3 separate regions of the Homo sapiens genome follow, and all the other regions are linked to region 2. The links are contacts of gene promoters, found by promoter capture Hi-C in human tissues and cell types (Jung and others, 2019). All regions are on one chromosome and are shown on one strand. The core of a region is centred on a gene start or on the middle of the fragment in contact, and the rest is flanking DNA. Distances in the headings are between cores, read along the strand shown.

Region 1 (2,938 bases), core at 394-2,893, 1.2 Mb after region 2:
TGTGTCCTGTCATATTATGATTGATAGAGAATGACCAATGGAACTGTATCATGTGTCACGCCTCAGAACACATACACATTTTGGGAAAATAAATTATTTAGTGTAAATTGGAGTTATGGGATTTTCTGATTTGTTTTGACTTTGGGGGAGGGGTTGGCAATAAATAAGAGTAATATCTAATAAAACCATCACATATACCAAATACCTATTTAATAAATTAATTTATAATGGATTTTAATGCTTTTCATGAAAGTTTATTTTATGCGAGTGCATACCTTCTGTATGCCAATCATTGTCTTTAAAATAAAGTGAAATTGTTTTTTTCTTTTGGACTTTGATCTTCATTTGCAAAGAGATCCCGCACAAATATCCAGCTGCCTCACTCGCACAGTCTGTAGAAACATCCCTCCAAGCCTCGCACCAGGGTAGCAAACTTCCTTTTTATAAAGATTCATACCAAAAAAAGCACCCAATTTGGGATTGTATGTTTGAAAAATCATTTTCTTTTTAAAAAGTGTGAACGTTTTGCTCTGTTGTGAATGATTAATTGTATGTTTTCTTTAGAGTCTAAAGTTTAGACCCCCTGCCAAAAGTGAATATTCACAAGTATAGCGTTCAGAGAAAGTTCTGAGTGTTGCTTGAATTTGGTTATTTGAGCAACAAGTCTAGAAATGAATGCTTGACCTAGCACCCGTGTGAAACTAGCCCGTTAAGCTCTCCAGGTGTCTGAACACGTGTGCTCGCAACTCCTCTGTTAAGCAGGTCACTACCCTGTGGAGGAAAAAAGTTGCTTTTGCACTGTTGATTCAACACACACACACAAAAATTAGATGTTTTACAAAGCATAGACATAAGCCTTAAAGTGGACCCAAAATCGTGCAAGGGCAGGATAGAGCGTACACACCAGAATAAAAGGCCTTGTGCAGACAGAGGGTGCCCAGTGGAGTTCTGCCTTGTACTCTCACCCTTATCGTTATTTTCTTTCACAGTTACAAAGTGTATTGGGTTTAGTGTCACAATTTTATCTTTTAGTCCCTTCCTTCCTCAACTGCAAAGTCAATGGGGGTAATATATGTAACAGCTGAGGGAGGGCTTTCAAGAAGACACGTCTGAAGGGCCGTCAGCACAAAGGGAAAAGATCCATTTAAGCTGCTGTGCTAATAGGAAAAGAAACCTATCAGCCATCCTCAGAGTAGGAAGTGGTGGTCTATGCCTGCACAAATCGAACACTGCGTCCATTCAGGAGTGGCCAAGGACTGGGCAGCCCAGTGGGCCACACATCGGGCAAGAGGCTGCCCGAGCCCTGGAGGTGGGGTTGGGGCCTGGAAGCAATCTGATCGGGAAGCAGAGCCCCGAACGGGCTCCGACCTGTCACATATTTTGTCTCTTTCCTCTTGGGTTAAGATTCTCTGGGGGCTGAGATTCCCCTCTGTGTTCCCTTTGGCCATGACCTGCTAATCACACCTTGTGGTTTGTGCGATGTCTGAGTTCCCATACCCTGCCAGCCTAACAGCCCTCTAAAGGAGCTTGTGGAAGAGTCCCAATCATTGCCCCAGACCTGCCAAACCCTAATCTTAGAACAGTCCCAGGGACACCTCGGTTGCCCAGGCTCCTTAAGGACTGCAGCATAGCTAGGACTAGGAGCTTCCGTGCTGGCCCCAGTCCCAACATTCCTTGATGGAACAGAAAGGCTTAGCATAGGAAGGAAACTGCTGATCTGAGATGGCCTCAGAACACCCTGCCCTCCACCTCACCCACTCTCACTAGAGAAATCAGTTCACATCTGAATGTGACGCCAAGGATTTGGCGAAACAGGAACTTGGATTCATCAAAGCTGAATTCATTCGATTGAGATTCATTAACAGGCCACATCATTTAAACCCTAACTGTGTTCTATTATTTGTAAGAGTCGTACCAAGTGGTGGTCAGTTGCCAGCCTCACGTTTTAATAGTTGCAAGTGGTGCCTACGCCAGGTGGGAGGGCATCCACCTTCCTCACCAACATTCTATTTTAGAAGTAATGACTCACAATATCGTCACAAAGCTTTCACAAACTCCTCCCACACACCCACCCTGTGCAGGAAATGGGGCCATTCTTTCCAATGTACAGATCAGGATGTTGAGGCTCAGATTAAGCTACATTAATTACCCAAACTCACCCAGCTAAAATGTGTGAGCTGAAACAAACCCAGGTCTTTCCAAATCCCAGCTCTTTTTTTCTAGGACACTGTATTCTGAAAGGCCCTAATTTGTCACCTCTCTGATTTAAAGGCTTGGCTAATGAATACATGTTGCTGTAAAAACTGTTAAGTGCTATATAAATACAGATCCCTTTGTGGCTGCGAGCAAGCCTTGGTCTACAATCAATCTTCGATACTCAAAGTACACGTACTGTTACATTATGAAGCAGCACCTTCCATTTCTCTGTACCCAGGTTTCCATCGTTCCTTCTACCTTCTCCATCCCCTTTCCTGGACCTTCCTCCTCCACCCAGGCTTACCTATAAACATTGATGTTCTGCAACACTCAGGCCGGGAGTGTTCTCTCTGTTTTCTCTCATCATCTCATCTAGTATGATGACTTCAAATTCCACCTCTCTGCAGGTGACACCCGGAATTACATCCCCAGTTGTGAATATTCCTCTGAGCTTTAGATGCCACGTCAAATGACCTGGGACACCTTTTGTACATCTGCATGACAACCGAACTGGTGATTTCCGACCGCTCCTCCGTTCCTGCTCTGGTCCATCCCATCTCAGTGTTAAAGCACTGCCGAGAAACCTCGATCAGTTAGCCCTCATTTCCCTCCCCATCTCGGGAGGTCCCGTCCGTTTTCTGGGTTAATTCCAAAATAATCTTGAATACTAATCCCCTGGTGCTGTCAGTCCAGCCCATTTCCTTTCCTGTCAACAGCCTCCTAACTGCTCTTGCCTCGCTTC
Region 2 (3,196 bases), core at 625-3,124:
GAGCTCCCCATTCTGTACCACCCACTACCCCCATATCCTCCACCTCCCTGAAGACCGAACTCCCTTGAGCCTTTGGGGGCCACTGCAGCTACTTGCATCTCTTCCTTCATTCTTTTGTACCTGGGCGCTTCCAGTCCCCCATGCAACTCCTTTTCTGGCTTCAGCCTGACACAAAGTCCAACCAGTCTGAAATTCCAACTCCTCTCCAAGTGCTAAAACGCACAACCCCCAATTCCTGGGGCTTCCTCAAAAGAAACCATGGCCCCTGGAGGCACCCTCAGGAAGAGGTCAAGACAGGGAACACTCACCCCGGGCAGACAACTTCTTGGTATTGATGATTTTTGCTGCGTACTCCTGCGTGGAGGTTTTCTTCACACACCTGCGGACCACAGAGAAAGCACCCCTGGAGGGAGAAGGGGAAAAGAACTGGGACACGGAGCAGGGCAGAGTGACACAGACACACTTCAAGTCTGGGGACGATGATGCTCCCACCACCAGACCTCTAGTCACACTCACGTACATGCACACACACCGGCGCTGTGACCACCACCATCCAACATGAGGCAAAAGGACGCGGCCACCGCAGGACACTGAACAGATGTGGGTGGCGTGCCGCGCTCCCACCCCCTCATCCAGTCCCTGGGCAAGGCAACAGCCTCCACCTCAGGCTGCACATCAGGAGCGGGTGGGCGATGCTGAAAACACACACCTGCTGCATCTCAGACAGCCCTGCGGTCCCGGCCAAGAGAACCAGGGCAGAAGGGAGCAGAGAGACCCTGCCCTTCTCTCAGCAGGAACAGTTGAAGGTCGGGGAAGGAAAGATTAAAAAGAGGGTATCATCCCCTGAAAGAGAAATCTCCCTCAACCATGGGGCAAAGTGAGGCTCAAACCCCCCCACAGCCGGTTTCATCTCACTGCATCCCGGCTCAACTGACAGCAAGGGAAGAGAGGACACAGTCAGACATCAAGAACTCCCCTTCCCATGCTATTTTCCTTGACGTCCCCGTCAAACGGGAGCTCGCACTCTGAGCTCTGGAAACGTCTGGGGGGGCGGGCGGGGCGGGGGCTGCAGTGGCCGGGCTCGGCGCCGCGGGTGGGGGTGGGGGGCCGGGGCTGCTGCAGCGGCCAGCTCAGTGCGGAGGGGAGGGGGATGCTGAGGCTGCGGCGCGGCTCCCGGGACCACTGCAGGGGTGGGGGGAGGGGACGGGGGTGCCGCAGCACTGCCCAGCCGCGGGGCTGGGAGCCTGGAGCGGCACCCGCGGGGGGCGGGGCCGGGCGCCAAACAGCCCCCCCACGCCCGGGCTCCGCAGCAGAGCTAGGGCTGCAGGGCTGGGGAGGGTCCTGAGTGCGAGGCGCGTGGGACCTGGGTTCAGGGTGCGGAGTGAGCAACCGGGCAGCGTTGGGAGGTGGTCGGGAGGGGGGCGCCTGAAGGGTGCGGAGGGGCGGGGCTGGAGGGCACCCGGGAGCGGTCCGGGGTCTGCGGTGTCCGCGGCGGCGCGTGGGGAGCAGCGGCCCCGCCAGTTGCTGCAGGGCGCGGAGGGGGATGCGGGGCAGTGCGCGGGGGGCGCGGGGACCGAAGGCGGCGGGCGGGAAAGGCGGGGGTGGGGCGGCCGAGGGGGAGCCGCAGCGGCCGGTGCAGGGCCGGGGGGCGGGGCGAGAAGCCGCATAGCTCCCGGGCGGCAGGGCAGGCAGGGGACCGCGGCGGGCGGGCCGTACTTGCCAAGCTCCTCGAAGAGCTGGTAGTCGTCGGTGAAACGGGTGCAGGTGGCGGTGGTGGCCATGCTGGCGGGCGGGCGGACGCGGCGGTGCAGCCCGCGCCGACGTCGGTGCACAGTCACCGCCGCCCGGCCGAGGGAGCAAGAGGAGGAGACGGGGCTGAGCCCGGCAGCACCGCGAGACTTTACCGGGGAGAGCGAGGGAGGGAGGGACACCCCCGCGCCGCCCGCCCCGCCCCGCCCCCAGGCCCCGCCAGTCCCCCCCCCCGCCCGGCCCCCGGCCCGCCCCCGGGGAGGGGCCTCCCGCCGCCGGCCCCGCCCCGCCCCGGAGCCGCCCTCGCTGGGCCAGGCGCGCGGGGCAGCCGAGGGGAGGGGGTCCCCGCTCCGGGCCACCTGTCTGGGCAGACGGAGCTGGAAGGTTCGCGACTTATGGGCTTGTCCCGGGGCGGACCCCGCGCGGGCTCGGGAACGTGCATGCGAGGGTGCATGTGTTAGGAGTGTAGGAGTCTGGACCACTGACCTCTCTGGACGGGTCCTACACGCGGGTCCCGAGCCCCCAACCGGGCTCCTAGCACGTGGGGAGAGAGCCAAGGTCAAGGAGCCTGTGCCAGGCTGCACGCCCGGGAGGCGCCCCCAGCCTGCGCAGAGCCAGCTGCCAGCCGCCTTCCCTCTGGGAGCTGACAGTCTAGACTTGCGCAAGCACCAGGGCCATTATTAGAAAGAAACCCTTCAGGCGCGGGTTGATCAGGGAGACCAGGCCAGGGGCAAGGATACAGGTAGGACTCTGCCTTCCTGCACCATAACTGCAGAGATGAAAGAGTATTCTCTATCCGGCCAGAAATGAAAGGGGTGAAGTAGGAAGACTTGAAAAGGCTTTGTGCAGTGGGGGCTAGAAGAGAAAGTGGAAGAAAGGGGAAATCCCCATTTTCTTGCAAGGCACCCTCGTACTTTTATTTTCTGGCACCTACCACATTTTGTAGTGATGCATTGACTGGTATAAGGGGCAGTAGAGCTATCTCATAGCTGTCTAAGCGTGAACTTGCATCAAACTGCCTGGATTGGATTTCTAGGCAACTCACTGATCAGCTCTGTGACCTGGGGTAAGTCACTGAATCTTTTTTTTGAGACGGAGTCTTGCGCTGTTGCCCGGGCTGGAGTGCAGTGGTGCGATCTTGGCTCACTGCAGCCTCCACCTCCTGGGTTCAAGCGATTCTCCTGCCTCAGCCTCCCGAGTAGCTGGGATTATGGGCGCGCGCCACCACGCTCGGCTAATTTTTTTGTATTTTTAGTACAGACGGGGCTTCATTATGTTGTAGTAATGAAGTATGTATGTAGTACATACATGAAGTAATGAAGTATGTATGTAGTACAGAGGTGGCTTCATGAGCCACCTCGCCCGGCTGGGAACAATAATATTACCTACCTCATAGGCCTGTCAGCATTAAATGGTCTAAGGCACTTAGAATAGTACTTGGTGCCTA
Region 3 (3,238 bases), core at 656-3,155, 1.2 Mb after region 2:
TGTGAAAGGGAAAGGGTTCTGAGGAGGGAGCGGGAGGGTGGGGGTGGGGGAAGAATGGGCTGATGGAAGGCTCTGAAGTAGCAGCCGGAGCGCAGAAAATCTCAGAGGAGGGGAAATGCTAGCAGCTCCCAAGGAGAGAGACCAGGCTGACCTGACATCATACGGATCAAGAAGCACGGATGAGGAGATGAATGCAGACACCTGGGGGAATGAGCTGAGAAAAGCAGAGTGATCTGAGGCAAAGGAGAATAATGGTGGTGGTTCCTCCTGCTTGGCAGGGAGGGTAGTACCTGGGGAGGATGTCATGGGGTAGGCCAGTTCCCCTTGAGTTTTCCCCAACCAAGTTTCCCCCAAGGCCTCCCTGGTTACGGAGTCCACACTGCAACTGCCCTCCCCACCCCAGGGCAGAAAGCAGAGGAGGCAGTCATCAAGGACTGGCTCTGAGCTAGAGGCCAGCAGAACCCCCAGGAGGCCTTGCCGAGGGCAGGAAGGAGGTCTCGGGCCTCTCAGCTGGAGTTTATTGTCCTGGGAGGAAGGTAGGATGGCGGGAGCTTAGGAAAGAGCTGGGGATGTGGATGAGGAGTGGGGAAAGGTTCTCTTTCTGGTAGCCTCTCCACCCTCCCCATCTCAAGGCCTTTGCCACCAATATCCCCCTTGGGCCCCTAACATCTTTCCTGGTCTCCAGTGGAGCTCTATTGCCGTCTTCATTCCCCTGTAGACACAGGGCCTCTCATCTCCATGCACTCAGCACCGGGGTGATGGATGTAGCCGCCCTGTCGCTTCCTCACTCACACACTCCTCTGGAGGCTAATGAAGTGGCTACAAGCCAGGGCTGCTGGTCAGACCTGGCTCTGCCCCTGTGCTGCTTACCCATTGATGTGTAACAAACTACCCCAAAACTTAGTGACTCCAAACAAGAGCATTTTCTGATATCTCATTTTAGGTCAGTAATTCAGGAGGGTTCAGTAAACAATTTTGCTGTTCCATGTGGCATTGACAGAGGTCACTCTGTGGTATTTCGCTGGCAGATATGCTGGTATGGAGTAAACAAGAAAGGGTCACACAAATGTCTAGTGTCTGGGCTCAGTGAGGCTGTCAACCAGTTGGCCTACCCATGACCAGTCCAGCATGGCAGAGTGGGGCACAGGCCGACTTCTACAGGGTGGCTCAGGATTCCCAGAGAGCACATTCCAAGAGACCCAGGTAGAAGATGCAAAGTGTCTTATGACAGCCTCGGAAGCCCCAGAATGCTGCTTCTGCTGCATTCTCCTGGCCAGCAAGTCACTAAGGCCAATCCAGAATGGAGGCTCACGAAGTGTTTAAGAACACAGGTTCACTGACTGAGTTGGTAGTATGATTCTACCCTGCTAGCTAAGCAACCTGAGAAACTTTACTTAAGCTCTTTAAGCCTCAGTTTTCTTATCTGTAAAATGGGAATAACAACATTATCTACCTCTTAGGGTTTATGAGAGTTTAATTGTATATACATATATATAATTTCTAAATTAATACAAATGTAAAAATTATACATATAAATTATACATGTGTGTATGTGTATGTATATATTTTGTTTGTTTGTTTGGCATTTAGTTTTTATTTCATAATCATAAACTTAACTCTGCAATCCAGCTGGGCATGGAAGGGAACAAGGAAAACATGGCACCCAAAGGGAACTGCAGTGAGAGCACAAAGATTCTAGGATACTGCGAGCAAATTGGGTGGAAGGATGCTCTCCTGAGTTACAGAAGGAATGGTCTGGAGGTTAAGATAAAACACAAGTCAAACTTATTAGAGTTGTCCACAGTCAGCAATGGTGATCTTCTTGCTGGTCTTGCCATTCCTGGACCCTCCATGGCCTCCACAATATTCATGCCTTCTTTCACCTTGCCAAAGGCCACATGCTTGCCATCCAACCACTTAGTCTTGGCAGTGCAGATGAAAAACTGGGAACCATTTGTGTTGGGTCCAGCATTTGCCATGGATAAGATGCCAGGACCTGTATGCTTTAGGATGAAGTTCTCATCATCAAATTTCTCCCAGTAGATGGACTTGCCACCAGTGCCATTATGGCATGTGAAGTCACCACCCTGACACATAAACCCTGGAATAATTCTGTGAAAGCAGGAACCCTTACAACCAAATCCTTTCTCTCCAGTGCTCAGAGCACGAAAGTTTTCTGCTGTCTTTGAAACTTTGTCTGCAAACAGCTCGAAGGAGACACAGTCTAAGGGCTCGCGGCGATGTCAAAGAACATGGTGGGGTTAACCATGGCTGATAGTACAGGGCTCCTGCCAGTGGCTGTGGCGTCTGCAAAGCCTGTTTTTGTTTTTTTTAATGCCCGCTGTAGAAAGCTCATGATCATCAATATCTGCAGTTTCCTCTTCTTCTTGGGCACCACCCTAGACTATTTCCTGGCTTCCCCTGCAGTTAGGTGTGGCCATGTGACTGGTTCTGGCCCATGGAACTTGAGGGGCAGTAGTAGACCTGGCCTCCATTCCTCCATGCTTACTCTCCTGGCCCTCCATCTACCTGTGTTTGAATAAAAAATAAAGCATGGCCTGGCCAGGTGTGGTGGCTCATGCCTGTCATCCCAGCACTTTGGGAGGCCAAGGCAGGAGGATCGCTTGAGTCCAGGAGTTTGGGAACAGAGTGGTAACATAGGGAGACCCCGTCTCTACAAAAAGTCAGCTGGGCGTGGTGGCATGTGCCTGTGGTCCCAACTACTTGGGAGGCTGAGGTGGGAGGACCCCTTGAGCCCAGAAAATCGAGGCTGCAGTGAGCTGTGATTGTACCACTGGACTCCAGCCTGGGCAACAGAGTGAGTCGCTATCTAAAAAATAAAAATATCAATCAATCAATAAAGTGTTGCTGAGTTTAGGTCACTCAGGTTTTGGGGCTGTCAGAGTCATTGGCCTAGCCTGACTGACTAAGGCACAGGTAGATAATAAAGTTCTCAATCAATACTAGCTGCTGTTCTGGCCTAATCTCCCTGGGCCTGTGTTCTCACCCATAAAATGGTGTTCACACGACCCACCCTACAGGATTGAGGAGTGAAAGAAATGATGGAGAGTATGACTTACTGGCTTAGCTTCTCTTCAACACGGTTACTTTATCTAAATACTACCAACTGAGTCATCATTACCTTTTTTCTTAAGCAAGATTATTTGTAATATAGCCTCTTTAAAGTTTTATTTTTATTTATTTAGTTTTTGGAGACAGAGTCTCGCTCTATCACCCA

The links. Contacts are between HindIII fragments. The study calls those that stand out against the background at their distance.
Region 1: a fragment that was not itself captured here is called in contact with the fragment with the promoter of CAMK2G in region 2 in 1 of the 25 tissues and cell types used here (lymphoblastoid cells).
Region 3: a fragment that was not itself captured here is called in contact with the fragment with the promoter of CAMK2G in region 2 in 1 of the 25 tissues and cell types used here (lymphoblastoid cells).

The regions. Positions count from the first base shown.
Region 1 is chr10:75,032,300-75,035,237 of GRCh38, forward strand. It overlaps KAT6B (lysine acetyltransferase 6B), which reads left to right. Exons shown (of 18, transcript NM_012330.4): 18 at 1-325. Among named protein-coding and RNA genes, the nearest start is that of SNORD172, 12 kb to the left of the region's middle. RefSeq lists an enhancer at 946-995. The HindIII fragment of the contact is 6,681 bases long and covers 1-2,938 here.
Region 2 is chr10:73,872,681-73,875,876 of GRCh38, forward strand. CAMK2G (calcium/calmodulin dependent protein kinase II gamma) reads right to left here and starts at 1,875. Exons shown (of 23, transcript NM_001367534.1): 1 at 1,717-1,875; 2 at 309-403. The coding sequence starts at 1,781. RefSeq lists silencers at 1,268-1,327, 1,588-1,757, 1,818-1,977, 1,988-2,267 and an enhancer at 2,488-2,597. The HindIII fragment of the contact is 10,637 bases long and covers 1-3,196 here.
Region 3 is chr10:75,087,457-75,090,694 of GRCh38, forward strand. It overlaps the pseudogene PPIAP13. Among named protein-coding and RNA genes, the nearest start is that of DUSP13B, 10 kb to the right of the region's middle. The HindIII fragment of the contact is 6,630 bases long and covers 1-3,238 here.